Regions from separate parts of the Homo sapiens genome. Here regions 1, 2, 3, 4, 5 and 6 are each linked to region 7. The links are contacts of gene promoters, found by promoter capture Hi-C in blood cells and fetal thymus (Javierre and others, 2016). All regions are on one chromosome and are shown on one strand. Each heading gives the region's core, a stretch centred on a gene start or on the middle of the fragment in contact. The rest is flanking DNA. Distances are from core to core; before and after follow the strand shown. Region 1 overlaps FAM24B (family with sequence similarity 24 member B). Region 2 overlaps IKZF5 (IKAROS family zinc finger 5). Region 3 overlaps C10orf88 (chromosome 10 open reading frame 88). Region 4 overlaps PSTK (phosphoseryl-tRNA kinase). Region 5 has its middle 2.5 kb from the start of HMX2. Region 6 overlaps BUB3 (BUB3 mitotic checkpoint protein). Region 7 holds the start of EDRF1 (erythroid differentiation regulatory factor 1).

Region 1 (2,848 bases), core at 140-2,639, 2.8 Mb before region 7:
ATAATAATTGGTCACAGCTGGCACTAGGGAAAGGCAGTCTCCTAATTAAAAAAAAAAACCCTGAAACTGGTGATCAACGGCTTGCCGATAAGATCTCAGGAGTTGGACAAGTGGGTTCAAGCATGTGCACTAAGAGGCAAAATGGCAGAGTTTAACTGGTATATGACCTTCTAAGAACATTTGATGGGTAAGAGAAGAATGCTTCAAGTGAGCATGCATACAACTCCAGTAAACACACTATGCATACAGCCCCGCCCTAGTGCTGGCACGCCACTGAGCATGCAGACAGCCCACCCTGAGGGAAGAATTAGCAAGAAATAATGCAACCCTGGAAGCATGTCAACATGTAAGACCCAAAATCAAAGGTCCAACCACGCACTTGATCTCTCAAGGCGCTTGCTTGGCCCTCTTCCAAGTGTACTTTTACTTCCTTTTGTTCCACCTCTAAAGCTTTTAAATAAATTTTTCCTTTTGCCCTAAAACTTGCCTTGGTCTCTCACTCTTCCTTATGACCCTTGGTCGAATTCTTTCTTCTGACAAGAATTGAGGTTGCTGCAGCCCCCTGCAGATTCACTACCACTAACAACGGGAAGGCTAGAGGGGGCTGGAATCTTCTAATTGCCCTTTCCCTAGAACAGATAAGGCTCTGGTAAAGTACTTTCCCTTGAGAGAAGGCTTTTGTTAGGGAAATGCTGAGGGCAGTTTTCAAAAAGGTTACTTTGCCCCCTCCTTCTGCACAAAGCAGGAGGGAGTTTTAATCCAATCCTTGTCCTAAGAATCTGCTGCAGCTCTGAAAAGTAAAACTCCCAAAAGTGTAAGGGCACCATATGAGTGGTCTCCCAGGAGTTTCTAACTGTCAAGCTAACTCACACTCAGCATCCAGCAAGTCATCAATGACCATTTTAAGTGTTCCTACCATTTGCTGCCTCATGAGGATTTCTGTTCCTAGCATGCTGATATCAGTTGTGATTTTCTGTATTTGCCTACCCAGTTTGGGGGTGGCCATTTGCTTTGTGACCTCCATTATCTGATGGATATTTTAAAGGCTGTTAATGTTCCATTTGTTCAGCTTTTTTCTTGTGAGGACAGTTGTGATTGACTTCTAAGTGGTTTACGTGTCACAGATGAAACCAGAAGTGTTAAAAAATAAGAAAAGAGCACACAAAAACAAAAGCTTTCTAGAATATTCAATATTTTGAGGGTAAAAGGTCCTGGGACTAAAGTGTTTGATTGCCACTATGCAAAGGCACTCTGTTAGCAACAGTAGATACATATATGATTCTACTCTAAATTCTACAAGTTATATATAATAAACTTCTCTTTAAAACAGTCAAGCCAAAAAAATACATTGTGATATTGGTGGAAAGATTTCAAAGATATGCCTTATTCTTTATTTCAAGTGAAAAAATAAAAATAAAGCAAAAAATACCATTTGCCATTCACGACAAGAGTAATTTACATTAAAATTGAGGTCACCTAGGCACCAGCACAACACCCTGGCTTTGTAACCATCTGAAGGGTTCTTCCTGCCTGCTACACAAAGATCATGGCATTGTAGTAAAGAAAGAGTTTAATAGACATAAGGCCAGCCACAATTCTCATCCAAAGCTTATAGGTTAGGGATTTTTCAGAGGCAGTTTGGGGGAAGTGGTGGAGGTCGCTAGGCTTGCTGCTGATTAGTTGGGGCAGAGATGAAATCACAAGGGGTGAAGCTGTCCTCTTGCACATTGAGTCACTTCTGGGTGGGGCTGTAGGAATGGTGGGTGTCAGACATGCAAAAAAACCCTGAAAAGATATCTCAAAAGGCCAGTCTACAATAGTGGTGTTATCTGCAGGAATAATTGGGGAAGTTGCATATCTTATAACCTTCTGAATAATAACTGATAATAGTTCATGTCTGCACCTTAGCAGGACCCAGGCTCCTCTCCTCCTGCCAGCCTGATGCAAAAGCAGTTGAGTTTGGGGGAAGGCCTATGATAATTTAAACTATAGCCTAAATGTCCCAAAAGCCCAAGAATAATCAAGGCAAGACTGGGGATGGATTAGCTCAGATCTCTTTCACTGTCATAATTTTCTCACTAACTTTTGCAAAGTTTTTTCAGCTTTGAAAATAAGATTGAATTTGCCAGTTTCACCTCTTTCTACTCCTGTTATACTGTGATAGAGTTCCCAAACAACCCCTATTGCTATCTCTATCAATTCCATACAACAAACCTATACTCAATCTCTACTAGGCACAAAACAATTCCTATTTTCAACAACTGTACAGATGGTTGGGAAAACAAATGTGAGAATTATTTGGTAAAGCTCCATACCAGAAGAGAATTATAGTATCTAAAAACTCTAAGTGTAGCAGAGAGAAATTACTGACAAATTCTCTCACAGTGTGGAGGGCTGTGCTTGGCACTAAATGATGAACAGGATTTTTCCTATCCAAAAGAAGGGGCATTCTAGGTAGAGGGAAAAGCATGTACAAAAGCTGGGGGGTCTAGGAGGCAGGCAGAAGTCAAGGATAAAGGGCTTTGTATGCCTGTTAAGAAGTAATGGTGGCCAGGTGCGGTGGCTCACGCTTGTAATCCCAGCACTTTTGGGAGCCGAGGCGGGCGGATCACTTGAAGCCAGGAGTTTGAGACCAGCCTGGCCAACATGGCAAAACCCTGTCTCTCCTAAAAATACAAAAATTAGCTGGGCCTGGTGGTGCACGCCTGTAGTCCCAGCTACTCAGAAGGCTGAGGCAGGAGAATCGCTTGAACCCAAGAGGCGGAAGTTGCAGGAGCCGAGATCACACCACTGTACTCCAGCCTGGGTGACAGACTGAAACTCCATCTCAAAAGAAAAAAAAAAGTAA
Region 2 (2,728 bases), core at 229-2,728, 2.7 Mb before region 7:
AATCAAATGGTTATATGCACGTATGTGGCTCTGCTTCTGGATTCTCTGTTCTGTTCCACTAGCCTATCTGTCCTTGCTGCCATACCAGATACTCTTAATAATAAGTCTTGCTATCACAGTAATTTAAGTCCCCCTGCTTTGTTTTTCTTCTTCAAGAATAGGCTGTTCTTGGGCCTTTTCAGCCTAAGTTTTTAAATAGTAGAACTGTAGGGTTGAGGAATGAGGGGGTTCTGCAAAAGCAGATTTTCCAATTTACAAAAATATGACCAACTTTTTAAGAATCAAAACTTCTTCTTTGACTTAACTCGAAATCTACTGGAAATAGACCAACATTTGACATACCATTAATATGAATTATTGTACTTTACAACCACTCAGTAACAGGGCTGTTTTTGTTTTCCCTGTTTCCTGGCTTCAGACTGATCTATCTTATTTTCGTACTTCTTGTCTTCTCTCTTCACATCTAGTCTCTTCTTTGTTCCAAACATATTTAGCCAAATAAGGACTTACAGGTAACTGAATTCTCTTTTCTTAATTCAATACTTGTGAATCGTTCCTTTCCTCCCTTTTTAGAAGCTACGGTAGTTCTAGGGGCTTTTAAAAATTATTAGTGGCCGGGCGCAGTGGCTCACGCTTGTAATCCCAGCACTTTGGGAGGCCGAGGTGGGTGGATCACGAGGTCAAGAGATGGAGACCATGCTGGCCAACATGGTGAAACCCCATCTCTACTAAAAATACCAAAAAAATTAGCCGGGCATGGCAGCAGGCGCCTGTAATCCCTGCTTTTCGGTAGGCTGAGGCAGGAGAATCGCTTGAACCCGGGAGGCAGAGGTTGCAGTGAGCCCAGATCGCACCACTGCACTCCAGCCTGGCGACAGAGCAAAATTCTGTCTCCAAAAAAAAAAAAAAAATTATTAGTGCCAGGCACGGTGGCTCATATCTGTAATTCCAGCACTTTGGGAGGCCGAGGCAGGCAGGTCACGAGGTCAGGAGTTCGAGACCAGCCTGGCCAGCATGGTGAAACCCCGTCTCTACTAAAAATACAAAAAAATTAGCCAGGCGTGGTGGCAGAAGAATTGATTGAACCCAGGAGGTGGAGGCTGCAGTAAGCTGAGATTGTGCCACTGCACTCCAGCCTGGAAGACAGAGCAAGACTCCGTCTAAAAAAAAAAAAAAAAAACCAAAACATTATTAGTATTACTACCCCTTTTCAGGTAGAAAAGCCTATTTTTTAGAAAATTGTCTAGGAAGTTGAGACTACTGAAAGTTTATCCTCTGGACAAGTAGAGTATAGTCAACTCTATATCCACAGGTTCTGTTATCTGTTGATTCAACCAACTGCAAAACAAGATTATTTGGAAAAAATGGATGGTTGCATCTATATTAAACACGTACAGACTTTTTCTTTTCTTTTTTTTTTTTTGAGACGGAGTTTCGTTCTTGTTGCCCAGGCTGGAGTGCAATGGCGTGATCTCGGCTCACTGCAACCTCTGCCTCCCAGGTTCAAGCAATTCTCCTGCCTTAGCCTCCAGAGTAGCTGGGATTACAGGTGCCCGCTACCACACCCGGCTGATATTTTTTGTATTTTTAGTAGAGAGGGGGTTTCACCAGACTTTTGTGGGGGGGGGGGTCATAATTCCCTAAACAATACAGTGTAACTATTTACATAGCATTTACATTGTATTAGGTATTATAAATAATCTAGAGCTTAAAGTATGCAAGAGGATGAGATTGTGAGTTATATGCAAATACTAAGCCATTTTATATAAAGGACTGGAGCACCCGCAAATTTTGCTATCTACAGGGGTCCTGGAACCAGTACCTACCAGATATGGAGGGACAACTTTAAGACTATGAACAGGGACCTCTCTCAGCCTTAGTTTCCTATTTTGTAAAATGGAATCATAATCCAACTTGCAGTGCTATCTTAAGTTTTATAGGTAAGTATACATAAAGCATATTGTGACATGTATCACATATGGTAGGCTATCAGAAAATGGCGGCTATTTTTCTAATAATTATTTTTGTAGCAAATAGAAAAAATGGTTATAACTTAGATTTTAAAATTCTCACCACCCCTGATTCCGTTATTCCCCTTTTTCTATGGGTTCATCAACGTGGTTGAAAAATATACTGAGCATCTGTTTCTTAGTTACAACGAAACAAACATGTTCCACCTTAGTCTCAAGTAATTCCAATTTGCAATTTTTCAAATCACTTTGCAATTTCTCAAACAGATCTTTGCTTATTTTACTTATAGGCCACCTCTTTAAATCACTTGCTTTAGTCTGGCTCAGCTTTCTGAATCTTAAGGATTATTGTTGGCTTTTGAACACATTTGTTTCCGTTGTTTTTTTCCCCATCTTATCATGTTTATTTGAACTAGTTCTCTGTTTCTTTATCATTGTGTTACTATTTGTTTTGTGACTACAGTTGATTGTGCTGATTATCTGTCCTTTAAATTTGCTCTTGGTGGGAAAATGTAAGCTAGTCAGCTCCAGTGAAAAAGACTATCAAGAATAAGATCTGGGAAAATATTTTTTTAATTTGTAAAAGCTGTATAGCCCTACAGATTGTCTGCGTTCTAATTATAAAAGCTATAATTAAGAAAGAAATCCCAGTATTTACATTGTAACTTAGCATCACTTCTTGCCAATCAGTTCACATGAAAACTATACATTTCTCCTGGAAAATGTCTGAATATACTTTGACAGGCTTCTGGAAGCAA
Region 3 (2,748 bases), core at 132-2,631, 2.8 Mb before region 7:
AGATTGTAGCAGGACAGGTGGGCCAGTTAGGAATCTCCTGAGGTATCCAGGTGAGAACATGGTGTGGGAGGAAGAAAAGTATACATTTCCATCTTTTTTGAAATTCTTCTTTCTGTGGTTTCCATAATCTTCAGCTCTCCTGGTTCTCTTAACTCAGCCCATATTATAATACTGGTACTACATTAATATTTGTGAACCACACAACATCTACAAGGAGTTCTTTACTTGCATTACTTATTTTAAATTTTCACATCAATTCTGTGATCCTTACAGTGTTATCATTTAGATTTTGTACATGAGGAATTCATATTGAAAAAAATATTAATTAACTTGCCATAGGATGCAGAACTAAGAAGAGGCAGGACAAGAGTTTGAAGTCACTTTACCTGACATCAAATCGTTTCTCTTGCTACTCTATCACACTGCTGCCTTCTATGTTTCTGGTTCCTTTTTCCTCTCCCTTCACCACCCTCCGTCAGCTACTGTGGGTACACCCCTAAACTTCCCTTCCAGCCACTGAAGGTTCATTCCATTTCTCCTAATCCTCTGTTTCCAGATGTTTGCAACATCCTTCCAGGGAATGTCTTATTCACAGCTAAAAGTCAATGTTCCCAAAATTAAATTCCTTTTTCCTCCAAGCATCCTCCTCCTTTGGGCTGCATTTATATTATTAGTATCACCATCTTCAAAGCCTCAATTTCATGTTTAACTTGATTTTTCTATCATAATACCAATATTAAGTTAGCTGTCAAGTCCCAATGGCTCCATCATTTTAGCATCATTTAGCATCCAGCATTATGTTACTACGTCCAATCTTAGACCTCATTCACTCTCATCTGGACGAGGGGAATGACGTGCAGCTCATCTTCTCCTTGTAGTCTCACTTTCTTCAGATTCACCTTACACTTGACAGTGGCTTAAAATTTCTTGAAACATAAGTCAAAAACATCTACAAATTTAAACCAGCATCCCAAGCTGTTTATGATCTAGCTGAAATCTACTTTAAACTTTGCCTATTACTTTTTTGCTTCAGAGAAATGAACTACCATTCATTTCCCAGCTATATCAAATTCTTCTAGCATTGAAGATTTTATTCACCTTATTTTTTGTCTGAAATGGCCTTCTTCCAAATTTACTTGTCTAATCCCACCCTACATTTTAAAGGCCTAGATAAAATACCACTTCTTTTAGTGAGCCTTTCCTTAGTGTTTTCATCATTCCCCACTTACATGCTCCAGAATGTAAAAATTCTTAAAGACTACAGATTAACTGACCATCTTCGCACACTCAAAATTGCTCAAACCAGTGCCTTGTTTACTGCAAGAAAAAAATCTTGCTGAATGAATGAATGCATTCATAAAAAGTGTGAAAATGTGTAGTCAAAACACTTTGTAGAAGGGCAAATCTAACAAATGTTAACTTCTACAAAACTAAAAGATAACAGTTAAATCAGTATGAAAGAAAAATTTTAAGTCACTACATTTCTTTACTAAAAGCAATGGTTTTGAAATCATTAATGTTATCTGGAAAGAAATCCATTTCTACTTACCCGCTGCTGACACCTAACCATATCCATCAACTGCTGAGCTCCAGGAGATAACTTTGACCCCATGGACTCCATTATGGTTTGGACCTTGTCAAGGTCTATCCTTGATCCTAGAGCAGGAGAGCTTGTTGAAGAATTTGCAAAAACTGATCTCATGTGTACCACAACTTTACTGATGAACACACACTGCCTTTCGCCAAAGGAGAGCAACTATTATAAAACAAAAGTTCCAGAAAAGAATGATATTAAAAACAATAATCATTTAATGTAACTTCTTGGTATGACCTAAACAAGAGTGAAGTATTCAAGAATCTAAAAATTAACTTCAAGTATATTTTAAACTTTTCTCTAGAACAGCAATAGTCAGGAAAAATTCCAATTTATCATGAGGCTCAGATGAACTATTTAAATAAGAGTCCTTTCAAAAATTAAGACTTCATGTAAAATAACAAATGAGGTGATTAAATAAATGTTTACCTATTTAAAGAACTAAAAATAAACTATAGTAGTTCCTCTTTATCTGTGGAGAATGTGTTCTAAGACCTCCAGTGGCTCCCTGAAATTGCATATAGTACCAACCCCTATATTTTTTCCTATACATACATACCTATGATAAAGTTTAATTTATAAATTAGGTATAGTAAGAGTTTAACAATAGAGTAATTTTGACAACATAATAAAAGTTATGTGAATATGGTCTCCTCTCTCTAAATCTTACTGTGCAATACTTACCCTTCCTGTAATGACGTGACATGATAAAATGCCTACATAATGAGATGAAGTGAGGTGAATGACACAGGCATTGTAATACAGGATTAGGCTACTACTGACCTTCTGATGATACATTTGGCTAGTAAGTGGCTAATGGGCAGTAACATATACAGCAGGGACATACTAGACAAAAGGATGATTCATGTTCCAGACAGGACTGAGCAGGATGGCAGGAGATTCGATCACACTACGCTGAATGAAGCACAATTTAAAACTTATGAATTGTTTATTTCTGAAATTTTCCATTTAATATTTTTGGACCTCAGTTGACTGTGGGTAATGGAAACTGTGGAAAGTGAAACTGCAGATAAAGGAGAACTGCTATATACCAATCTGAGACCTTAACACACCACAACTTGCTACTTAACACAAAATAAGTCTGTCCAAATGCTCATGTAAAACGTTTACTGAAATAAGTAAAATGCAATCCT
Region 4 (2,736 bases), core at 147-2,646, 2.7 Mb before region 7:
ATCAGCCTTGGCAAACGCAAGGATCTTGCTACACCCCCAGCTCAGCATGTGGTTGTACAGTATTTTTCATATAAGACGTTCAATACATATTTGTTAAATCAATGAATGAATTCTACCTGAAACCTTCATGGACCTTTGCTCAGTGAGAAACTTTGCTCATCCATATCCAGTAAATAAGCGGGAGCCAGAAAGTAAAGACCAGGCATCTTTCCATAGAGAATAAAGTTGAGCTCTTGTGGCCCCCGGTTCAGCCTTAAGAGGGGAAAAGAGAATGACTTTTCAAAGCTTATTGACATGAGTCTTAGGAAATTGGTATTTTTTAATGAGGGGTCCTTAGCTTATCATTTGTTTTGAGCTACTGCATTTGGATTGTCTACATGGAAGCTAGCTTCTAAATCATTTAGTTTTTTTCCTTTTGTTAAGAATCTTGGGTTATAGCAGTTTCATTCCTCTAGAATTCAGTTTAATATTCATAAATACAAGTTCCTTAAAAGTCAGATGTTGGCTGGGCATGGTGGCTCACGCCTGTAATCCCAGCACTTTGGGAGGCTGAGGCAGGTGGATCACGAGGTCAGGAGATCTAGACCATCCTGGCTAACACGGTGAAACCCCATCTCTACTAAAAAATACAAAAAATTAGCTGGGCGTGGTGGTGGGCGCCTGTAGTCCCAGCTACTCGGGAGGCTGAGGCAGGAGAATGGCGCAAATCCGGGAAGCAGAGCTTGCAGTGAGCAGAGATCACGCCGCTGCACTCCAGCCTGGGTGACAGAGCAAGACTCCAGGACTCCATCTCAAAAAAAAAAAAAAAAAAAGTCAGATGTTGGATATAAGGATCTATTGTATTTTATCCCATTTTCTCTGTAGCCTGGAAGTGACTGATTTATTGCTCACTGCTTTGGAAAATCCAGTAAAATATGCTGAGGACAATATGGAACAAAAGGTAAACTTCCAGTGTAAATTTAATGTAAATGAGAAGGAACAACTTTTTGTAGGAAGATCTTTTGAGCCGAATATAAAATGTGAGTGAAACGGGAGATGCGTTGTCATTGGCTTGGCCTCTCACCAGCACTCACTGCTGACAGCTCATGCCGGCTGGGCAAAGCCGATTGTTAAACTTTCAAAAGTGTTGGAGCCTGTTGATGGTTTGTTGGTAGGAATGTTTACATCACAGAAATTGGCAAACACTACAGATAGGTCTGGGGTTTTTTTCTGGGAGAGTCAATTATTAGACATTCACCAGCATATCACCGCCTAGCTGGAACCCAGTTTACCACTGGATCTGATTTGGTTGGACTCTCTTGTAGGGAAGAATAACAAACAGAAAAGCCGCTTAAACTTTTCTTTTAGTCCTTTCAAATACATGTGACCTATTCTTTAGCCATTTATTTTATAAAACTATGTGACTTCTAATAACAATGTCTGTATTAACATAGGACACAGACAGAATTATTTGTTCAACTAACATTCTTCATAAAACTGATCAGACACTCCGAAGGATTGTATCTCAGACAATGAAGGAAGCAAAAGGTATGATGTGTCAGTTATGTGTTGAGTTGGTATGATTGTGACTTTCTACTGCTACTGTTATTCCCGACACTCAGAGTTTATTAGTTTTCAGTCATAAAAGTTCACATCATGTTTTCAATTTAATTATGCAATTTGACTAAATGTAACTAAAAATTCTACCTCTGGAACTGAGTGTTCATCCATCCAACAAATTTTTACTGAGTTGCCTTACTGTACTAGGCCTTACTCTAGATGCTGGGGAATCGGCAGGGAGCAGAACATTCTAATGAGGAGACAGACAAAACATGATTACATGAGTATATGCCCATGCTCTGAAGAAAATTTAAGTAAGGTAAGGCAGTGTAGTGATGGGAGGATTTATTTTTAAAAAGGTAATCAGGAAGCCTTCTCAGAGATGACATTTAAGCAAAGATGGGTAAGAGCGAACCATGCAGCTATCTGGAGGATCATTCTAGGCAATGAACACATCAAGTGCAGAAGCGCAAAGGTTGGCTGGTTGCAGTGTTGCAGAATCGAGAAGAGGCCATTGAGCACGGGGTGAGGTAAGAAGGGGGGAAAGGTAGTCAGGGGCCAGGTGTAAGATCAGCATGGAATTTGAGTAAAGTCAATGTATTATAAATCTGAATTTATATAATAGATGAAATATGTGGTAACTAGAGTTTTACACAGTAATTCCATTAGGTTTTGAATACTGTATTGCTATATTTAAAATTGTACCTTTAAAAACCAGCAATGAACATTTTTTGAGCACCTTTCTATACGTTAAGCGCTTTACAAATACTGTTTCTAATCTTCACAGTCCTATAAGGTAGGTGTAATTTTACAAATGGGGAAATGGAAGTTCATAGAGGAACAAGTAACTTGTCCAAGACTGAACAGCTACTAAATATTTGGGTAACCTGGGGTCCAGAATTACATCCAGTTCCAGTCTGTGCTTCCCATTCTGCTCCCCTGCATCACCATCATTTATTACCTTTACAAAAGCTTAGAACACTGGAAAAGGAAACAATATACCAGCCATACTGTTTTTGAATTTGTATAAAACTATGATCTACCAGTTGATTTTATATTGTAACCCAGGGTATAACCCAGTACACGAACTCATGTGTGGAAACAAGTTTCACAAAACACCTTCACATGTTTAATGAACTCTGTGTTCTACTTGATTTCATTTTAGAAAAATACCGATTGCCACTTATTAATGGGTAA
Region 5 (2,821 bases), core at 252-2,751, 2.6 Mb before region 7:
AGTGTCGGGACTCGGCTATGCTGATCCAATCTTCATGACTTTCTGTTTTCCAATAAATTACACAATTCATTTTCCAGCAGCAGATTACATAAATTGTACACCTCTGGGGCTCTCTTTTTCAAATAGGGAGCCCTTTTCCCCAAAAGCCTATTGTGAGATGTCATTTGCACCAAAGAACGAACAGCAGAGGCCCTTGAACGAAAATCGAAACATAATCAACGTTTATACTTAGAAAATTTATTGAGATCATTTTCTCTGGTATTTCCTTATTTTAAAGTTTGGACGCGCCATATATCATAATCCACTCGCGTGGGGGCGGGGGGGCAGACTGTGTTTAATATTTATCGAAGCTTGATTCCAAGATCAAACTTGTTTATGACTTCATCTGTCATTTCGGAGGGAGCCTTCTTCTATTACCCGGCTCAGCCAGCCTATTTCCCAACTGCCGCAGAGCAGAGAGGATCAATTTTTATTAGGATCCTCGGCAAGTTTGCTCTGGGCCGCTTTAATATTGAGCAGTGGCATAATCTCGGGACCTAAACTTTAAGCGTTCTTTCAGGCTCAGAAAGTTTATCATTCCTTGGAACCTGGTTATGCCTAATTCCTAGGAGAGGGAGACAGGGGGTCGATCCCAAAGATGCAGAGGGGCCATCCTCCAAGGTGTGGGTATTAAACTGAGTAGGATTGGGCGGAGCTATCCCAAGGCTAGGGAGGTGGGCGGGGTGTGGGATAGTACTGAGTTGAAGGATTGCCACTCGTTAGGGGAGAGACATGAGGTGTCTGTGGGTGGTGGTTCCAGGAACTGAGTGTTCCTGGGAGTGAGTTTTGTAGCTACACTGGGCCCAGGAGAGGGCGTCTGGGCCTCCGTGCTCCCGGTGAAGATCCCCATATGCTAGAAAGGGGCGGCAAGGAAGGTTGTTTCTTGTCCCTCCCGTCCTTGCGGTGTGACGGCTATAGGTGCTGGAGGGGCGGGAGGTCCCTCGGGCTATCAATCGAGGGGAGCTCAGGGGAACTGCAGTCAGTCAGGCTGCAGAGCTGGGTCTCCACCACAGCCTTCCTTGCCCCAGCCCCGTGCCCACCACCATCTCTTCCCTGGTAAAGTGCACGCACTAGTAGGAGCTCAGTGAACGTTTGCTGAATGAATGTGTGAGTGTGCGCAGGCGTTTATGCAAGTGCCTTCATGCGAATTAATGCGTCCTTTGCCGGGTGTGGCAGCAGAGGAAGTGCCTCGGTGAAGATCAGACCCTCGAAGCGATTAGAGGGACGGGACAGAGGAAATACAAGGCAAGATGGATCTTTTTGACTTCCCAAACTATCCCTAGGGGAAGGAGAGATAGGGACGCAAGGCTTCATAACTTCCTTGTTTAGAGTCCGCAAGCCAGGCTTCTTGCAAGGGTCGACTCCCCAGTCTCTCACTGTTTCAGGGCCTGGGAGTTGCTTTTCCGAGGCCCACTTCGAGGTCCCCTGATCTGACAGAGATCACTCCTTGGGCTCTTGCCCCACCCATATACCCGCCCCCGCCATCCCGAGTCAGCAGGATCCTCACAGTCTTCCCCGCAGCCATCCTCCAAGCTCAATGCCTGTGTCTGCTCCTCTCTCCCTCCTCCCAAATGTGATGTATTGGCAGTGGAACAACCTTGAGCACGAGTCTTGCTTTGTCTGCCTGGGCTAGTCTCTTGTTTTCTTGAGCCTCAGTTTCCCGGCCTGTACATTGAGTGAATAGATCTGTGTCACTTGTTTGCCATCAGGATTAAAGCGAAGAATGCTGGGGAGCTTCCAGCATGTTCCCCGCACGACATATTTACAGTTCAGGAAGGTTCGACCAACTTTCCCTGCCTGCCCCCAGCTTTCTTCCCCAGCGGGGTGGCTGGCACTGCTCCCCGAGTTAGCTGGCCAGTTCCCCTCGGGGCTGCCTTGACCCTGGCTCCGGAGGCAGCGCCTAGCTCAGGATGTCTGCGAGAAGCGGATGGTTAGTGAGAATCCGACGATTCTTTCGCTGAACCTCCCGCGTACCCCCCAACAGCGCGGGAGCACGCGGGACCCGCTGCGACGTGGCCCAGGAGCCTGCGCCGCCGCGGCGCAGAGGAGAACGCACAAATTGTATTTCAGCGCCAGGTCCTTCCGGGTTAATGAGCTGACACCATGATTAAAGCTGACCATTTGTAATGTGTCTCGACCCTGCCGCTGAGCCCTGAAGAGGTTAATGCGGTGACGGAGGCCGGCACCTGCCCCTCGCTGGCCTCCCGGGCCGCTGCGCGCACCCCCTGGCCCCCGCCCCCTCGCCTGCCCCTGCCCCGGCTGCGCGGCCGACTCCTAATCAATTAGCCCATTAACGAGCCCCTCGAGGAGTTAAGTAGGGAAGAGTTCTGCCACGGGCAGGGCCGCAGTCGGTAACTCACCGCGGCTAATGATATTATAAGCGCTTTACTTAATAACCCGGGCGCGGTGCAGGCGAGGAAGGAACTGCACAGTCATGCAGTGTCTGGACATTTGTGGGGACTGATTCCAGAGTCTCCACTCACCCTTGGCTGCACTTGGGGGGCACCCTAAAGACAGGGCTTCTGGAATCTCTTGGCCAAGAGGTCTAGAGGTCACAGCTTGAGGGGACGGGGTTGCCTGAGCACTTCGGGCCTTGCCTCACTTCAGTTTCCAGGAAGCTTGTGCAGACGACTGTGGCCCCAAACCGCTTTGCTTGGCTGGGCTAATTCTAGCTCGGGTAACAGCTGATCTAGGAATTAAAGGGGCGAGAGCCAGGGCACAGAAGGGGGCTATGAGAACACAGAGGGAATCACTATTTACTGAGCACCACGGTGTGCCAGGC
Region 6 (2,700 bases), core at 110-2,609, 2.6 Mb before region 7:
CTCTTCTGTTTATCTTTTCTTCCTACTGCTACCATCCCAGGGCCTTTTGGGTGAATGTGGCAGCCTCCAATTTCTGCCTTAAGTCCTCCATCTAATAGAGTAGTGACTTTTGAACCTTGTAGTTGTGACCCAAGTAAGAAATACATTTTGAACTACAGTTCAGAACACAGAGGTCAGTATATTATACATGACAGAAGGATCCTGAAATATGACTTGCCCTTCTTGCATGCGATGTATCTGGTGCATGTGTGCATTTTTTTCTTTGCTTTTTAAGAAATCCTGGCTATGTCACCTTGAATTGATTTTACAACAAATGCCTGTCACCTGTAATTTGCAAAAACTGCTTGATCAGATTCTAAAAAATTTCTAAAAGATTTTTAAAAAATGTATTCTGATGTCATACTTGGAATCCTCCACTGCTTCCTGTTGCTCATAGTCACCCTTCAGTGATTTCATAAGGAGGTGTGCTGCTTCCCAAGCTTCTAGATCATCAGGAAGGGGCCGCGGACTGTAAGGTGCTCTCAGAAGATGGGACTAACCTTTGTTGGGAATATAAATAAGTGGATGGGATGGGAAGTGACAGCAATATCTGGTTCTGAGTTCTGTTGTGTAAAAACTTAAAGGTATATTAGCAGGTTAGCCTTTGTTCTGTGGGAGATCCAGGCCTTGTTAGAAGGACCAAGGCCAGAATGCCCAGTTTAGCCTTAGCATTCAAACCCTTCATTGTTTTTCCTCCATTATCTGTTAAACTCCTGCTTTGCCAAAGGTATCTTCTATACCCTAATAACACTAGCTTCCTTCCCTCAGTGGGGACTCAACGCACATTAGCCTACTGAGAGCTTAGATCACTACAACGAATCCTTGTAAATTTGTTTAACTCAGTTTTCCCCAAATTCATTTAAGCCGGTTCTACTTTTTCTGGTCTTGTTCCCACAATCATTTTACCTTTTACCACTCCCCCAGAAAACACTGGGGTTCTTCTCTTACGCTGAGAGCCAGGTTACTTTCTTCACTATCACTCCGACGCTTGTGTTGATTCCCAAATCTCAGTCTGCCCAGGGTCATTCTCTTTCTGAATTGCTCTTTCAGGATTTAATTTGAATCCTGCAAAGTCCTGTTCAAGGCCCCCTTTTCCATGAAGCCCTTCTTCCTTGTTGCAGCTCACAAATAAGTGTGCCCTTTCTCAAAACACGTATGAAACACCTCCTGCTTGTATACCTTTAGCAGTAGTTCCTCATATTGCCTGGCATTTAAACATTTTTGTATGCGTACATCTTGCTTTCCTACTTAAAGCAAGAGCAGGACCACATCTTTTTGTATGCTCTGGCACATGACTGTTGGACCACTTTGATATTGCTGAATTATATAGACTCCTTTTAAAATAATTTGAAATATAATTTTGGAGTATAGACATCTTGTCCAGTGCACTAGACAGGTGACCTTTGGCTTTGTTCATTAAGCATTTAGTGTCTTAGAAGTGATATGTTTACTGCAGAAAAATTTGGATAGCATGCAAAAAATGAAACATACTATCACAATCCTATGATATAACTTAAAAATTTCTTTATAGCTTCATGGAGGTATTTGATGAAAATTGTATATATTTAAGGTATATAATGTTTTGATACATGTATACATTGTGAAATGATTACCACAAGGAGGTTACTAAACATCTCCATCACCTTGTTAAATTGAGTTAAACAAATTTACAAGTTGACAAATTACATTTACAAATTTATGTAATTTTTTACGCTTTTTTTTTTTCTCCTTTTTCTGGAGAACGGGGTCTCGCTATACTGCCCAGGCAGGTCTCGAACTCCTGGGCTCAAGCTATCCTCCCGCCTCTTGCCTCCCTAAGAGCTGGGATTATAGGCGTGAGCCACCCCACCCGGCCTATGTCATTTTTTTATGTGGTGAGAATAAATAATCTCAGCAAATTTCAAGTATACAATTCATTATTACTAAGATAGCCACCACACTGTATGTCAGGGCTCCAGAACTTACTCATCTCATAGGAGGCAGCTACTTTTAACATTCTTGGTGTATATCCATCCTTCAGGATTTTCTGTATATTTCTCTAACAGCAAAAGTTTTTGTTAGCTACATCATGTGAAATGCCTGGGTAGACAAATTTAAAGATGTTATTTGGGATGGTGTGACTTGCACAAGCCACACAGCCTGCATGGTGTCCACTTTGAGGGGGATGCCCATAGCTATACTTAGAAGTCATCCTCTAGAGCAAGCTTGTCCAATTTGTTGTCCATGGGCCACATGCTGCCCAGGATGGCTTTGAAGGTGGCCCAAAACAAATTCATAAACTTTTGTAAAACGTGAGATTTTTTGTGATTTTTTTTTTTTCGAGACACAGTCTCGTTCTGTCGCCCAGGCTGGAGTGCAAGTGGCGCGATCTCCGCTCATTGCAAGCTCCGCCTCTCGGGTTCAAGCAATTCTCCTGCCTCAGCCACCCGAGTAGTTGGGATTACAGGCACCCGCCATCACGCCCGGCTAATTTTTGTATTTCTTTTAGTAGAGACCGGGTTTCATCATGTTGGCCAGGTTGGTCTTGAACTCCTGACTTCAGGTAATCCGCCCTCCTTGGTCTCCCAAAGTGCTGGGATACAGGCATGAGCCACTGCACCCAGCTGTGACTTTTTTTTTTTTAAGCTCATCAGCTATTGTATTAGTGTATTTTATGTGTAG
Region 7 (2,700 bases), core at 38-2,537:
CCTGCCTCAGCCTCCCTAGTAGCTGGGATTACAGGCGCCCACCACCACATCTGGCTAATTTTTGTATTTTTAGTAGAGATGGGGTTTCACCCTGTTCGTCAGGCTGGTCTCGATCTCCTGACCTCAGGCAATCTGCCCACCTCGGCCTCCCAAAGTGCAGGGATTAAAGGCGTGAGCCACCGCGCCCGGCCTGTTAAATTTAATTCATAAAATTGTTTTGTTACATTTGAAAGCAATTTGTGAGTTGAATGCTTACTCATCAGGAGCATTCCTGAAAACGGACAGGACAGTGAGTTGTAAGAGCCAAACGTGAATTACAAATTGAGACAGCCAAATTGCAAGAGCCAAGTTAATTTTTAAAAACACTTTCTGTATCTTACGGCACAACAAAACACTTTTACTACAAAACATGTATTGTATAACGGATGTGGCTGCGTTTGACAGTTTGAGATGACACTGAGGAGTGTGAAAGAGAGCCTGGACCTTCAAAGCTTGCAAACGGCCCGGGCTATTTCTCCACCTCTTCGCTACTCAAAGCGCTGGCATCGTTTCCTGGGAACCTGTGAGAAATGCCGAGTCTCGGACCCATCCAGAGCGCCCGAATGGAAACCTAGGCGTTACGAGGCCCCAGGTTCAGCGTCTCACGGGTCCTGCACCACCTGGGACGCCCCGCAAGCAGCGGGCATGCCGGGCCCCCAGAAGACTCCGAAAGCCACCCATTCCCTAAACGGGGAGGGCCTCGTCCGCGCGTCCCAGCGCCCTCCCCGGAAGCCCCGCCGCTCCCACACCCAGGATGGGGCCACATGGGCACTAAAAGGCGGGCAGGAGCGCCCAGTCTCGAGATGGCTGGCTCGCCTTTCCAGTCCGGGCCCTCGGGGTGCCCGTGTGAAAAGATGTGACACTGAAGCCTGGGGAAGAAGTTTGAACCTCTCACTAATTCACGTAACGGGAGCCGCCGGCAGCGCTGACGGCTGCACCTCCCCTCCCACGCGGACACTACCTGCAGGATCGGACGACCCCCAGAACTGTTTGCCAACAAAGACATGCAGGGGGCGGAGCCTGAGCGTCAGATACCGTGAGCGGCGTGCAGAGGGCGGAGCCTAGGAGTCAGATACCGCGAGAAGTAGTCTCCCGAAGAGGTTCGGACAAGCGCAGGCGCACTACAATTCCCGCCCTGGCCGCGAAGGTGGCACCCGCAGCGGGAGGCGGGGCCGGGCCTTCGGGACAAAGATCGCGAGATTTAATGGCGAGTCACAGCTACTTCTTCCTGGCAGAGACCGGAAGTGCGGTCCGCGGAGCGTCTCTGGCGCTTACCCTGCTTTGGGCCTGCGTTGCTGCTGCTGCTCCTCCGCTCCCCCGTCGTATCGCCTGCCCTGGATCGAAGTGATGGGGGATGCCAAGGAGGCCGGAGCCGAGGGTCCGCCGGCCGGGGCCGCCGCTCGAGGAGGGCTCAGCCTCCTGTCCCAGGGAGAATCCGAGGAATCTTCTGCACAGGTGAGTCCTCCGCGGAGGGGGACCTGCCAGGGATGTGGGAGCGGAGGACCCGCTCCACCGGGGAGGGATGCCACGGTTCCCGGCAGATTCTGGAGGCTTCTCCATGTTTCCCTGACACCCCCAAAACAGGGAGTTGAAGTCCATGCTCCAGTCGGCAGGTATTCGTATTAAAAGCAGTTCTGGTAGCCGACAGGTGAATTAGATACGATCTTTCCTCTCAAGGAGGGTACATGTAAATATGTCGTTCCAAAACGTGGCACAGTCGTGCAAAGCAGGAGGGAAGAAACGGTGCCAGGTAGTGACTCGCCGAGAATGAGACCGAACTAATTCACAAAGGGTGTAAAATGTTTGCCATGCAGAAGAGGTACTGCGTGAAAGGTTAGAATATTGAACCCAGACGCCGAACTTGCTTTGGGAGTGTGCAAGTGCAGGCTGTGAGGAACGAACCCCCAATGCCTTTCTATGAAGTTAGAGACTCAAGAGTATTTGAACCATGCATGCATGCATGAACCGATGCATCGATTACTAAATATTTGCATTAAAACAAAAAGCCCAAATGTTCTACCAGACTATTTTATGAATGATGTGTTATTAAAATTAAAATACATCTTTGGCCGGGCGCGGTGGCTCACGCCTGTAATCCTAGCACTTTGGGAGGCCGAGGTGGGTGGATCACCTGAGGTCGGGGAGTTCGAGACCAGCCTGGCCAACATGGCAAAACCCTGTCTCTACTAAAAATACAAAAATTAGCCGGACGTGGTAGTGCACGCCTGTAATTCCAGCTACTAGGGAGGCTGAGGCAGGAGAATGGCGTAAACCCCAGAAGCCGAGGTTGCAGTGAGCCATGATTGCTCCACTGCACCCTAGCCTGGGCGACAAAGCAAGACTGCGTCTCAAAAAAAAAAAAAAAAAGAATTAAAATACATCTTTAATACTGAAAATAGGCTTTACTAAAGTTTGCATCTAGTTAACATGATACCATTGAGTCTCCTTGGTTTCTGCTTCTCCACTTTACATGAATACATTTTAAAAGAGATGTGGGTGGTCCATTTTCTAGCTGATAACCATAACCATCATACTCCTTGACTCATCTTTTTTCTTTGAAGTTGGTGTAAAAGAACTAAGTAAATGTTACCATTTATGCTCAAATTTATTAAGTGCTGTTAGTAACATGTGGCATACGTTCCTTGTGAAGCCTGGTGTGAC

What was found. The method cuts DNA at HindIII sites, captures the fragments that hold promoters and counts their contacts. A CHiCAGO score of 5 or more calls a contact.
Region 1: a contact is called between a fragment that was not itself captured here and the fragment with the promoter of EDRF1 in region 7, in 1 of 17 cell types (total CD4 T cells). The highest score is 7.2, in total CD4 T cells.
Region 2: a contact is called between a fragment that was not itself captured here and the fragment with the promoter of EDRF1 in region 7, in 8 of 17 cell types (fetal thymus, total CD4 T cells, total B cells and 5 more). The highest score is 9.9, in fetal thymus.
Region 3: a contact is called between a fragment that was not itself captured here and the fragment with the promoter of EDRF1 in region 7, in 4 of 17 cell types (non-activated CD4 T cells, naive B cells, naive CD8 T cells and 1 more). The highest score is 7.0, in non-activated CD4 T cells.
Region 4: a fragment that was not itself captured here is called in contact with the fragment with the promoter of EDRF1 in region 7 in 1 of 17 cell types (non-activated CD4 T cells); the score reaches 5.1 in non-activated CD4 T cells.
Region 5: a contact is called between a fragment that was not itself captured here and the fragment with the promoter of EDRF1 in region 7, in 1 of 17 cell types (monocytes). The highest score is 6.6, in monocytes.
Region 6: a contact is called between a fragment that was not itself captured here and the fragment with the promoter of EDRF1 in region 7, in 1 of 17 cell types (total CD4 T cells). The highest score is 5.0, in total CD4 T cells.

The regions. Positions count from the first base shown.
Region 1 is chr10:122,875,703-122,878,550 of GRCh38, forward strand. All of the region lies in intron 1 of FAM24B (family with sequence similarity 24 member B), which reads right to left. All of the region lies in intron 1 of FAM24B-CUZD1 (FAM24B-CUZD1 readthrough), which reads right to left. Among named protein-coding and RNA genes, the nearest start is that of FAM24B, 2.5 kb to the right of the region's middle. RefSeq lists enhancers at 88-608, 609-1,128. The HindIII fragment of the contact is 434 bases long and covers 1,173-1,606 here.
Region 2 is chr10:123,001,625-123,004,352 of GRCh38, forward strand. All of the region lies in intron 2 of IKZF5 (IKAROS family zinc finger 5), which reads right to left. Among named protein-coding and RNA genes, the nearest start is that of IKZF5, 5.8 kb to the right of the region's middle. The HindIII fragment of the contact is 6,203 bases long and covers 1-2,728 here.
Region 3 is chr10:122,947,100-122,949,847 of GRCh38, forward strand. It overlaps C10orf88 (chromosome 10 open reading frame 88), which reads right to left. Exons shown (of 6, transcript NM_024942.4): 4 at 1,550-1,756. Among named protein-coding and RNA genes, the nearest start is that of C10orf88, 5.8 kb to the right of the region's middle. The HindIII fragment of the contact is 3,733 bases long and covers 1-2,748 here.
Region 4 is chr10:122,985,436-122,988,171 of GRCh38, forward strand. PSTK (phosphoseryl-tRNA kinase) reads left to right here. Exons shown (of 6, transcript NM_001363531.2): 4 at 865-940; 5 at 1,434-1,527. Among named protein-coding and RNA genes, the nearest start is that of PSTK, 6.4 kb to the left of the region's middle. The HindIII fragment of the contact is 2,226 bases long and covers 284-2,509 here.
Region 5 is chr10:123,144,192-123,147,012 of GRCh38, forward strand. No RefSeq gene overlaps it. Among named protein-coding and RNA genes, the nearest start is that of HMX2, 2.5 kb to the right of the region's middle. The HindIII fragment of the contact is 2,307 bases long and covers 349-2,655 here.
Region 6 is chr10:123,166,208-123,168,907 of GRCh38, forward strand. BUB3 (BUB3 mitotic checkpoint protein) reads left to right here. Exons shown (of 8, transcript NM_004725.4): 8 at 1-2,700. Among named protein-coding and RNA genes, the nearest start is that of BUB3, 13 kb to the left of the region's middle. The HindIII fragment of the contact is 1,764 bases long and covers 478-2,241 here.
Region 7 is chr10:125,718,422-125,721,121 of GRCh38, forward strand. EDRF1 (erythroid differentiation regulatory factor 1) reads left to right here and starts at 1,288. Exons shown (of 25, transcript NM_001202438.2): 1 at 1,288-1,494. The coding sequence starts at 1,387. EDRF1-DT (EDRF1 divergent transcript) reads right to left here and starts at 1,072. Exons shown (of 5, transcript NR_033847.1): 1 at 1,001-1,072. RefSeq lists enhancers at 404-513, 994-1,073, 1,189-2,171. The HindIII fragment of the contact is 5,171 bases long and covers 490-2,700 here.